3 separate regions of the Homo sapiens genome follow, and regions 2 and 3 are each linked to region 1. The links are contacts of gene promoters, found by promoter capture Hi-C in human tissues and cell types (Jung and others, 2019). All regions are on one chromosome and are shown on one strand. Each heading gives the region's core, a stretch centred on a gene start or on the middle of the fragment in contact. The rest is flanking DNA. Distances are from core to core; before and after follow the strand shown. Region 1 holds the start of SHISA9 (shisa family member 9). Region 2 overlaps SHISA9 (shisa family member 9). Region 3 overlaps SHISA9 (shisa family member 9).

Evidence for each region. The method cuts DNA at HindIII sites, captures the fragments that hold promoters and counts their contacts. A contact is called where the count stands out against the background at its distance.
Region 2: a fragment that was not itself captured here is called in contact with the fragment with the promoter of SHISA9 in region 1 in 5 of the 25 tissues and cell types used here (dorsolateral prefrontal cortex, lymphoblastoid cells, mesendoderm cells and 2 more).
Region 3: a fragment that was not itself captured here is called in contact with the fragment with the promoter of SHISA9 in region 1 in 5 of the 25 tissues and cell types used here (dorsolateral prefrontal cortex, hippocampus, lymphoblastoid cells and 2 more).

What each region holds. Positions count from the first base shown.
Region 1 is chr16:12,900,256-12,904,227 of GRCh38, forward strand. It overlaps SHISA9 (shisa family member 9), which reads left to right and starts at 1,343. Exons shown (of 5, transcript NM_001145204.3): 1 at 1,343-2,372. The coding sequence starts at 1,810. The HindIII fragment of the contact is 6,671 bases long and covers 1-3,972 here.
Region 2 is chr16:12,975,231-12,979,502 of GRCh38, forward strand. The region is part of intron 2 of SHISA9 (shisa family member 9); the gene reads left to right. Among named protein-coding and RNA genes, the nearest start is that of SHISA9, 76 kb to the left of the region's middle. The HindIII fragment of the contact is 7,727 bases long and covers 1-4,272 here.
Region 3 is chr16:12,993,842-12,997,955 of GRCh38, forward strand. The region is part of intron 2 of SHISA9 (shisa family member 9); the gene reads left to right. Among named protein-coding and RNA genes, the nearest start is that of SHISA9, 94 kb to the left of the region's middle. The HindIII fragment of the contact is 3,962 bases long and covers 705-4,114 here.

The DNA of each region.
Region 1 (3,972 bases), core at 93-2,592:
TTCTCAATTCAGGGGACCCTAGTAAACCATTTTACATGTCGCCCAACTTTTCGTTCTCTGAAGATGCCCTGAGAAGCCCTTGACTGCAGCCAAGTGGAGAGGAGGGTTGTGGAAACATTATCTCCTTGCAAATCGCCTAGCAGCCTGCAAAGTGTATACTTAGTTAATGCAATTAAAAAACAAAACGCCGGGGCGTGGGGAGATCTAAATTTGGTGTAGCAGCTTTGGTGCAAATCCTGTTTTGGGGCTACTGGAGTCAAATTCAAGCAGAGGAGAGAAAGAGGTGGGAGAAATGAGAGAGGGCCTCCGGGGAGCTGGAATTCGCTAGGAGAGAGAGGGCAGATTTGGAAACACAGAGGAGACGGGAGGCTGGAAGCTGAGGAAGCAAGGCAGAGCTCTGCAGCCCCCGGTGAGGATTTCCGGGGGGATCCGTGGGGACAGGGGCCAGCCAGCTCCAGAGACCGATGCGCGGGCTCCAGGTCCGGGAGGGTGGCTGAGGCTGGGTGCCCAGGCCTTGCGCTGCGCCAGATCCGGGAGCGCAGAGGCGGCGCCGCGGTGTTCCCTCCTGTGGAGCGCAGAAAACGCTGCGGGGGCGAAGAGGGACAGAAAGCGGCAGGTTCGAGAGGCTGGGGGACTTCCAAGGAAAGACCTTCCAGGACACGCCATAGCCTCGGCCTTGTTCGGCTGTCCCCTCTTACCCCCGACCTTCTTTGATTCGTTCATCCCGAGCCCCTCTCCCCCGGAGGGTGCTTATCCCTGGCTCAGGGGCTTGCCACCTGTCCTTCCCAGCTCCGCCTGGGTCCTTGCTTGGGCCCAGAGAGTTGAGCCATGCGGGTTGCGCTCAGGGCTGGAGGGCGCAGCCGGGAAGGGCAAGGAGGCCCCGCACGCCTGGGAGGGGCGATCCTGACCAGACTGCACCCAGTCTGTCTTGGAGTGAAAGCCATTTAGTCTGTCCCCATCCTCTCCGAGTCATCCTTCCCCTGATGCACAGATTTCGGCCGCCGCTCCTGCACACGCACCGGTGAAAAAGCTACGAGCTGAGCCGCCTCTGCGCTCTGGACAGGGCTGAGCCGCGCCTCCTACCCAGAGAGGGCGCGGGAGGTCCTGCCGCGGTTTTCCACCTGCCTGGAAATCCGAGCGGCTCCTCTAGCCTCGGCTGCTGCCGAGCTCGCTCCTCCCCGTCCGCTCGCCTGGCTCAGCTCTGCACGCCCCCCAGCTAGCTCCCGCTCTAGTCACCTCTTCCCCGCGCCCCCGCCCCTCTAGAGCTCGCGCCCGCCCCCCCCCACCCGCGCCTCCTCTGCCCGCCCTCCTCCCCCTCCCCCTTCCCTCCTGCCCTCCCTTCATTCCACAAGTGTCGCTTCGCTCTCTTCAGCGCACTTGGCGAGCTGGTGAGGTGAGAGGGATACTGCGAGAGGGCTAGGGGCGGCCAGTCCGGGGCTGCCGGCCAAGGCTAGGCGCTGCCAGCCCGATTCTCCTCTGCTCTCCACCCCCGCCTCACCCAGTGGCCGGCCGGACCTGCACCCCGCGCTTGACCCCGCTCATCCTCCCCCCGCCCGGCCGGGCGCGCTCCTCCCCGGCCGGCCCCTCGGCGCGCGGCGCGCTGGAGGCGAACGCGGGCTGAGGCGAACGCGGGCTGAGCCGAGCGCAGTGGCCGCCGACCACCGAGCGCCCCGCGCCGCTCCCTGCATGTGCGGCCCGCGGCGGCTCGCAGCTCCCGGCAGCAGCCTCGGCAGCTTCGGCCGCGCCTCGAGAGGCGGCCGCAGAGGCTCCAGCGGCGGCCGAGCGGCCGAGCCCGGGCTGGGAGACACCATGCGCCGCGTCCTTCGGCTGCTCCTCGGTTGCTTCCTCACCGAGCTGTGCGCCCGCGTGTGCCGGGCGCAGGAGCGAGCGGGACACGGGCAGCTGGCGCAACTGGGCGGCGTGTTGCTGCTGGCGGGGGGCAACCGCTCCGGGGCCGCCTCCGGAGAGGCCAGCGAGGGCGCTGAGGCATCGGACGCGCCCCCGACCCGGGCGCCCACGCCGGACTTCTGCCGGGGCTACTTCGATGTCATGGGCCAGTGGGACCCGCCGTTCAACTGCAGCTCGGGCGACTTCATCTTCTGCTGCGGGACTTGTGGCTTCCGGTTCTGCTGCACGTTTAAGAAGCGGCGACTGAACCAAAGCACCTGCACCAACTACGACACGCCGCTCTGGCTCAACACCGGCAAGCCCCCCGCCCGCAAGGACGACCCCTTGCACGACCCCACCAAGGACAAGACCAACCTGATCGTCTACATCATCTGCGGGGTGGTGGCCGTCATGGTGCTCGTGGGCATCTTCACCAAGCTGGGGCTGGAGAAAGCGCACCGGCCCCAAAGGGAGCACATGTCCAGGTGGGCTGCCTCCCCTTCGCCCTCCCCTCGGGGCTTCGCTCTCCCTGCTCTCTCCTCCCCACCTTCCCCCAGGCAATGGCGCTCCCCACGGTCCCCGCTCCCCGCATCCCAGCCTCTCCGCTGGGGGATGTCACCGGGAAGCCAACTTCGGCTTGGAACACGGAGAAGGGGCGCTGGGCTCAGCACAGGTGTGGGTCTGAGCGTGTTCGTGTGTGTGTGAGCGTGTGTGTGTGTGTGTGTGACTCTGCTCCCTCACCCTCTGGCCGCCTCCTCCCGCTGGTGACTGAGGCGGACTTGAGACACGTAGCCTGGGAGCCCGTGGCCCCGAAATCTTCGGGTTTGGGGAGAGGGTCCATGGCACCCCTCGGATTCCAGGTGCTAGCTTTTTGGTAAACAGGGGCAGGCGAGCCCGAAAGGGGAGGGGGGCGTGTGTGAGCCCGAGCGCGCGTGTGTGAAGGAGGGAGGGTCAGAGTGAGTGCCGCCTGCAACTCGTACGACTCGCGAAAAGGAGACGAGGGAGGTGGAGTGAGGGGAGGGCGAGAACAAAAGCCTTGCTTGGAGCGGCCGCCTCGCTTTCCCAGAGCTTCGCCGTCCCTGGATTTGGGACCTCAGCTGCCCCCGCCCCTTTACCCACCTCATCCCTTTCTCTGGCCACCACTTCTCCCTGCCCGGGGCCGTGGCCATCGCTGCAGATTGAGCCCCTTGCCCTGGCTGGCGTGGACTCCGGGGGCCCGAGCCCCCTCCTCGCGCGCCCTCACTTCCAAGCACCCTGATTTCGTCAACTTTCGGGTTTGCCTTGTTCATTATGCAAGCCCCAGCACCAGCTAGTTCCAGCAGATGGGAGAAGGCTTTGGGGGATTAATGGAGCTATTTGCCTTTTGCTTTTTTTAAATTTTTTTTATTTTAAGTGTCTAAATCGATTCGCAAACTCCGTAACTTTGGAGGCGGAGGACGCAGCCACTAGGAGCACTAAGCCCCCGGCCGCGGGAGAGGCTGGGGGTTGGCGTGAGGTCCGGGCGGGCGGGGTGGAAGGAGTGACTAGCGGCCTGCGAACAGCTGGATGGTTGGGGCATAAGCTTTAACTGTCCCCTTTCAGAGTCTGGGCAACGAAGTCGCTGTATTTTTCTCTACCCTCTCCCCACCCCTTCTTCCGCGCCCCCTCTGCCGGGGGCCTGTGTGTGTGCGCGCGTGTGTGCACGCGCTCCGTGTGATGCCTAAAAAATCTGAACAAAGAGACCCACCAAAAATAGGCAAAGGAACATCACCACCTCACTAGTAATTATTTTCTATTTATACGCAGAGTATCCGATGAGATTTTTTTTTTTCCCCCAGAGAGAAGAGATTTTGGGGGAAGAGGTGAGGAAGTTCTCGGTTTGGGTCAGCAGGGAGCTGTGGGTGGATGGTGGGGTCTTGCTGCACAGAAGTAAGCTCCGAGGGGCTTCAAAGAAACCCTGACCTACTAAAGGAGTAAAGCTCTGGCCCCGCCCACCTTCCGCAACCACAGGGTGGCCTGTCCCCAGCCCCACCGGCCAGGCCAGTCCCTGTTAATTCCCCGGGTCTGTGTTAAGATGAGGGGAGAAGTGGTCTCAGGACTGAGGCA
Region 2 (4,272 bases), core at 244-2,743, 75 kb after region 1:
GGGAGGGCGTTCAAGAATAGGGTATTGGCTGGGCACAGTGGCTCACGGTGAATCACAAGGTCAGGAGTTCGAGACCATCCTGGCCAACATGGTGAAACCCTGTCTCTACCAAAAATACAAAAAAATAGCTAGGTGTAGTGGCTGGCACCTGTAATCCCAGCTACTCAGGAGGCTAAGGCAGGAGAATCGCTTGAACCCAGAGGTGGAGGTTGCAGTGAGCTGAGATTGCGCCACTGCACTCCAGCCCGGGCAACAGAGTGAGACTCCATAAAAAGAAAGAAAGGAAAAAGGAATAGAGTTATTAGCTCTGTCAGAATAATTGGATTTATGCAAGTTGTGTGTTTAAGGATTAATAAACATATTTAGGTGATAATGACCAGTGAAAGGCATTCAGGCAATGGTAAATGGGTGGGGTGGGACGGGGGCGGGGGGGGTAAGGGCATGTCACTATGAATAGGCCTGGCCTAATCAGGAATTGGTGAATTTAAGATGGAAATTGTAGGTGGGGCTGGGAGGGGGGACTGGAAAAAGAGGGAAGATGGCCCAGATATTTGGAAAGATTCTTGGTCATCCTTGAAGGACTTGAAGCCATGCTTAGTGGCCTGAGTGATAAAGAAGGATAATAGCTTCATTTATTTGAACAGCAATTTTTTTTTTTTTTGCCAGTGAACATTAAGCCAACAGAAACTTTTAGTTAAATTTTAATTCATCAGCAAATCTGATGACCCGGGGCATCCTGACTAATCAAACTTTTACTGTGATTCTCAATTAGTTTCACTTGGCAACATGTTGGAACCAATCATGGGTTGGCTGCAAATTCATGAGTTGTCTTTCCTACTTATTGCTCTAGAAAAATAAACTTATTATTATTATTTGAGACAGAGTCTTGCTTTGTCACCCAGGCTGGAGTGCAGTGGCGTGATCCCGGCTCACTGTAACCTCTGCTTCTCGGGTTCAAGAGATTCTTGTGCCTCAGCCTCCCGACTAGCTGGAGCCACAGGTGTGCGCCACCACACTCAGCTAACTTTTTTTGTATTTTTAGTAGAGACAGGGTTTCACCATGTTGGCCAGGCTGATCTTGAGCTCCTGGCCTCAAGTGATCTGCCTGCCTCAGCCTCCCAAAGCGTTGGGATTACAGGCATGAGCCACCATGCCTGGCCAAACTCGTTAATTTTTTATGGGTGTGGCTCTTTGGATTTTCTTCTGTTCTTTTGAGCCATTGACATGGGTGCATCATCTTTAGCTTGAAAGGTTTGAGACTGAGCATTGCTTTCTGACTAATTCCTATTCCGCTCCTGTGTCAACAGAATCATGGGGATTTGGAAAGACACTGAATTCCTCTGAAATTCAGTTACTCTAGATATTCAGGCTGAAGGTACTTTCCTCATTCTCAGAATCTCTCTGAATCATTTTAGGTGTTCTAAGGTGTAGATGTTGCTTTCTATTTCGAGTGTGCCTTGCAGGGGGTAAGTAAGTAACAAGCAGGTTTCAAGCAGGTGAGTGTGACAGTGGCAGACAGCAAAACATCATGGTTGAGTTAGCCCTGCCCTAATTTCACCTGTGGCTTTGCCTGGAATGTCACCCCAAGCAGAGGAAATGAAACAGCATGGTGGAAGAGGGAAGAAATATTTGGGACCTCAGAGAGTGGCTGAAAGTGAGCCAGGGGCAGCTTTTAGAAAGAAGTGGCACTTAACAATGAATCAAAAGAACATTGAGGGTTGCGTGGTTTCTCTGGAGGAGGAGAACATTGTAAGCTTGAGAGACATGAAAAAAGAGGGAGCAGTGCGAGCAGAGAATGCCTTGGACACTTTTCTTCCAAGGCCCCTGAGGTTTGGCCATATGACTTACTGTTGCCAGTGAAATGTGAATGGAAGCCTTTAAGAGCCACTGTGTGACTCACTGCAGTCTCTTCCCCCTGTCTTGGAGACGGGCTGTGTTCCAGACAATGGAGGCTCGGTTGGGCTGGGTTCCTGGGTGGATAATCCTATAGTAGGCACTGGGGTTGCGTAAATGAAAGAAATGGCCCTTGCTCTCAGGGAATTCATGATAGGGGGAAGAAGTGGTGATGGGGAGAGCACAGTTCAACTTAGGGGAATCAGGTAAGACTTCTTGGGGACTGACATTTGAGCAATGTTGTAAAGAATGAGAAGTTAAAACCACTGTGGAAGACAGTGTGGCAATTCCTCAAAGACCTAGAACCAGAAATGCCATTTGACCCAGCAATCCCATTACTGGGTATATACCCAAAGGAATAGAAATCATTCTATCATGAAGATATATGCGCGTGTATGTTCATTACTGCACTATTCACAATAGCAAAGACATGGAATCAACCCAAATGCCCATCCGTGATAGACTGGATAAAGAAAATGTGGTACCTGTCACCATGGAAAATACTATGCAGCCATAAAAAGGAATGAGATCATGTCTTTTGCAGGGACATGGATGGAGCTGGAAGCCATTATCCTCAGCAAACTAATGCAGGAACAGAAAACCAAACACCGCATGGTCTCACTTATAGGTGGGAGCTGAACAATGAGAACACATGGACACAGGGAGGGGAACAACACACACTGAGGCCTATTGAGGGTGGGGAGGGGGGAGAGTGAGAGCATCAGCAAAAATAGCTAATGCATGCTGGGTTTAATACTTAGGTAACGAGATGATTTGTACAGCAAACCACCATGACACACATTCACCTATGTAGCAAACCTGCACATCCCGCACATGTACCTTGGAACTTAAAATTTTAAAAAAAAGAAAGCATAAGAAAAAAAGAATGAGAAGTGAAGTGGGTGAATAAAGATGGGGGAGAGGTAGGATTTTTGCAGAGGGACTAGTTGGTGCAAAGACAGGCAAGAGAAACAAACAGAAAGGGAGTACTTGGAAATGGGCAGATGACACAACAATGGGATGCTTTTCTCCAGAAAATAAAATGGAAACCTGAATTTGACCCCTGTATAGACCCTACCATCATCTACCAAAATGGCACCACTGACATGGTATAGAATCATCCAACAGCTTACTGTTTATTCTGGAAGAAATGAGCATGACTTCTAGTCTCCCCTGGGAAAGAATTTTCATAAGTGCAGCCCTGTTTCATCAAATTATGATAGCCGATTTATATAGAGAAGGAAGACTACTACGTAACCCAAGGAGTAGATGTTGATTGTAACTGATGTCTGAATATTATTTGAAGCATGCAGAATGTAATTATTCTCCATGTAGATGGTAAATAATTTGAAATATTAGGCAGTGAGTGCATTTCCAAACTGCAGAGCAACTGCCAGTGATGCACATTACTACTTCCATAAAACTCCCATAAACAACAATTAAGGACATCAATATTTGCTTCCAAAGTAATCTGCTTATTATTAATGTGAATGATGTGATAAATAGCCCCAAAGGAGTGTTTTGAAGCAGTGTCTCATCACCTTGGATGAGGAGATGGCTTGACATCATCGTAGACCATTTGGTTTCTGTGTTTAAGGAGATGAGATATTTTCTTTGAAATTTGTTTTCTTCCCATTGCAATGTAACAGAACCGCTTCCTTAAAAATATATGGATTGATGAGTGGCTGGAGGGATGGATAGAAGGATAGATGAGTGTGAGACAAAATACACCCAAGTAGTAATTGTAGAATCTAGATGGTTAGTATGTATGTGTTCACCACACATTTCTTTAAAATTTTCTGTATCTGGAGAAGTTTCCATAATGAAATGTTGGGGGAACAAAACAGTGAGACATGAAATGGCTCATGATCTGTTTTTGGGATCCCAAATCCTCGTTATACACCTTGACTCATCTCTCCTCCCAATCTCCACGTCTAATCAGTCATCGAGTCCTGTGGATTCTACATTGCATTAAACCTTCAGACACCACCCTCTCCTTGATTGTTCCCATCGCTCCTGCCTTCAGCAATTCTTGCATGGTTTATAGCCACACCCTCTCTGCTGGTCTTTGCCTGATCTCACTCTGATAGATCCTTACATTGTTGTCAAAGTAATGATTAATTCCAGAAACATTTTTCGAGTATCTGCTATATGCAAGACACTGTGCCTGGTGCTGAAGTTTTTTTTTTTTTTGACCTTAGGGACACAAAACTGGACTGCTTATGAGTCTTGGTTTATGACATACTCCCATCGTTCCATGCAGGACTTGCTTTTGTCTAGTTAATTATATTTAATAGTTATAGTTCATTATTTTTAATAATGTGATAAGCGCCTGTGAGCCCATGCTCCAAACGAAAGCTAGAATATTGACAATAATGT
Region 3 (4,114 bases), core at 1,436-3,935, 95 kb after region 1:
AAGGAGAATGGGAAGGGGGTTCCAGGTGGAGGGAATAGCATCCAGGCAGAGGGAATGGCTGGGGGACAGGAAAGAGGGAGGAGAGTTAGGGGGACCTGAAGGCAGGCCAGTGTGGCTGCAGCAGGAGGGAGAGGGGAAAATGGAGAAAATGAAGTCAGAGACCCTATGGAGGTTTATAGACACCTGGCTAAAAACCCCAGAGCTAGAGAGATAAGGGGAAGCTTGTGTAAGGTTTTACAGATCAGGATATGGAATTTGGGTCTTTCCTGAGTGAAATAGGAATCAACTGGAAACAGAAGTTGTGAAAAGGTCATGTTGGCTGCTGTGTAGACGATTGGAAGGGCTGAGGGAGCCAGGGATAGTCGTTGGAAGGCTGTTGTAGACATCCAGTTGAGAGATGATGGTGTCTTGGACCAGAGTGTGAGCCACGGAAGCAGAGAGAAGTGAATGGACCTGGAATATGTTTTGGAGGTCACTGAGGCTGTCATTGTTCAGTGACATTGAACAATGTCTCCTCTCCTTTGAAAGACACTTCCTTACTCCACTGATGCTGGGCTTAGCCCCATGACGTGATTTGGTGATTGTAATATGAGCAGAACTGAGCAGAGGCTTTCAGAGGCCTTGTATGTGTCCACTGGCTTCTTGTGTTCCTGTTACTTGCCATGAGAATGACAAGCCCCAGATTTATGGTGGTGGTGGTAGTGGTGGTGGGTGGTTCTTCAGCCTGCCTTCTGGAAATAGGAAACAGGTGGCGAGGACCTGAATTTGACCTACATTCTGAGAATAAGCCCAGCAGAACTATAGTTGACTCACTGTGGTATCCAACCACTAAGATTTCAGGGTTGTTTGTTACTGCAGCAAAAACTGAGCCTAATGAAGGTAGGACTGGTGTAATCCGTTGGTCATGGTCAGGTATATGATGTGATGGGTGAGGAAAATGGAGGTGGCAAGGATGTCCGTATCTTTGGCATAGACAGCTGGGTGGATAGAGGTCCCATTTACTATGATTAAGAAGACCAAGAATTCAGTTTTAGTCTTGTCAATCTGAGATACCTGTGAGGTTCCCAAGTGGAGATATCAAGTCCACAGATGAATATATGTGTTTTGGGCTCACAAGAGAGTTCTGGGCTAAAGATATGCTTTTTTATCGCATGTAAACAATATTCAAAGCCACAGGAGTGGATAAGCTTATTTGGGCCAGTATTTTTTTTTTTAAAATAAAAAAATTAATTAATTTTTTTAAACTTTTACTTTTTATGGGTACATAGTAGGTGTCTATATTTATGGGGTACATGAGATATTTTGAAACATGTGTGCAAGGTGTAAAAATCACATCAAGGTAAATGGGGAATCCATCCCCGCAAGCATTTCTCCTTTGCATTACAAACAATTCATTTACACTCTTTTAATTAGTTTTAAAAGTACAATTAAGTTATTATTGACTACAGTCTCCCCACTGAGCTGTCAAACAGCAGGTCTTATTCATTCTTTTTAGCTATTTGGGCTGGTACTTCTTGAACTTTAATGTGATTTGATGCTTGCTGAGAAAGCAGGTGCCTTGGCCACACTCATGGAGAGGCTGACTCAATAGGCATCTGGTAGAACTCAAGAATTTACATTTTAAGATTCTTCTTGGTGATTCAATGGTGGGGTTCTATAGACCACACTTTGAGAGACATGGGCCTAAGGAGGGATGTCTTAAACGCAAATGAGGGTGTCTTTTGAATGTTCATCTGGCATTCAGCCCAGCAGAAAGGATGTGCTCGGATTCTGAATTTCCTTCCACCTTCCCACTGTTAAGGTCCCTAAGCCTCAGAGGAATTCTCAAAGTAATCCTACAACAGAAAGATTTTAAGACAATTAGATCAAAACATGTTTGCATTCATTTCTAGGTATTTATTTATAAAGAAAATTCTGCCTTCAGATTTTAATTAGGCAGTTTTATCTCATTTATCCATTTAAGTGCTGCCTATATTGAGAGGCTTGAGGTCAAGATGCGTGTACGAAAGTCTTGAAATTCCTGCTTTCATAATAGTGGTCACTCCGGCACATCATTGGCCAAAGCATGGACATACCCACGGCTCTGATGGTGCTTCTTGAGTTGTGGTTTGTGCCCATGTCCCTGGTAATGCTTGTTGCATAATTCCCTGGAAATTGAAGGAGGGTGTAAATGAAGTCTCTTTGCTCTCAGAAAGCAGACAGCTCAGTTTTCTGGATCCAGGACACAAAGGGGTGATGTACACGTGCCTCTTTTTATCTGTTGCCAAAAGCTCAGATGCTTTTTGATGACAGTCTACAACCAAAAGTTGCAAATTGGTGGCCTAGAAGGTGGATCTGTCTGGCAGATATGTTTGATTTGAGCTACACAATGTGTTTTTTTCAAATTAAATTAATTTCCAGCATTGAAAAACCGAGAGGCTTTATATAAGATCCAGATTTTTGGCTTCTCTTGAAGAAAAAAAATGTGAAGATCTGGCAGTGCCAAGCCCATTTTCCCACGTAGCAACCATCAGCTGGAGGTGAGTAGCAGCTGTCCCCTTTAAACAGGGCTCTGTTCCTCAGTTTGGCACAGGCCCCCAGAACACCCTCCTGAGCCTGATGCTCTGGCTGAGTGCTTGTTACCACTTACCATCTTTCCCAGGTCAGCTTGACTTGCTGACTTGCCCACTTTACCAGCATGGCCCCCAGGGTGACTACATTGCACATCTCCACTCCTACAATTCATATCGTAGTCTGGATTTGTGCAGTGTTCAACTGTGCAACCGAACTCAGGAGTCTTGCTGGCTCCGCTGGATCAGTGGTTTTTAACCTGGGATCTATGGGTCCTCAGGGTCTTTGGATGTGTCTCAAGGGTCCCATAGAGTTGAAGGGGAGATCTTGAGGGTAGAGCCTCCAAGGGGCCTTTAATTTCTTATCTGTAGTTCAAACAGAACAGCTTCCTCTAGGTCTGGTATTTTGGAATGGTGAATAATATTTTAATTTTAAAAAAAGTTTCGTGGCTAAGAAAATTCGAAAAAGATGGATGCCAAAATTAGCTTTATATAAGTCACCCAAGTCCTTTGGGGAATAAAACCACTCAGCTTGCATGAAATTCACTTCTGCAGCCCCCAACTGCCAAATCCTTAGGCTAGACTAGTTTTTATCAGTATAATTTACATACAGTGAGATGCACATATCTTAAGTATATAAATCAATAAGTTTTGAAACATGCATATAGCCCTGCAACCAACTCCTCTATCAAGAGGAAGAGCATTTTCATCACCCCCCAAATTCCCTCATGCTTCTTTTCATTCAGCCCCACCCATCCCTCAGAGGTAACCACTGTTTTGATTTCTTTCACAGTAGTTTTGCATGGTCCTGAACATCCCATATCTGGAGTCACAACATATATAGCCCTTTGTGCCTGGCTTCTTTTGCTTGGCAGGACATCTTTGAATTCTTCCATGTTGCTGTTTGTCTTGGTAATTCATTCCTTTTATTGCTGAGTAGTATTCCATAGTATACTGCAATTATCTATATAGTCTCCTGTTGACGACATTTGACATGTTTCCAGTTTAGGCTTAACCTAGTTTTTTTTTTTTTTTTTAGACAGTCTCGCTCTGTTGGCCAAGGTGGAGTGCAATGGTGCGATCTCAGGTCACTGCAACCTCCATCTCCCGGGTTCAAGCAATTCTCCCACCTTAGCCTCGCCAGTAGCTGAGATTACAGGGACCCACCATCAAACCTGGCTAATTTTTGTATTTTTGTAGAGATAGGGTTTCACCATGTTGACCAGGCTGGTCTCGATCTCCTGACCTCAGGTGATCTGCCCACCTCAGCCTCCCAAAGTGCTGGGATTTCAGGTGTGAGCCATCATACCCAGCCTTAACCTAAAATTTAAGGCCCTTCATCATCTGGACTCTGATTTCCCATCTGGCCTCACCACATGGTTTTTGCCAAATATCCTTCATGGTGCTCACTCACTGAGGCCCTTCACCTCTGTGTACACACATTTGTACATAACTTGTTCTGCCTCTAGATATATCTCTAGATAATCATCCACCTGAGAAGCTTGCATATTTCAAGACTCAGCTTAAACGGTGCCTTCTCGTCCAGACACCATGTTATACACGGC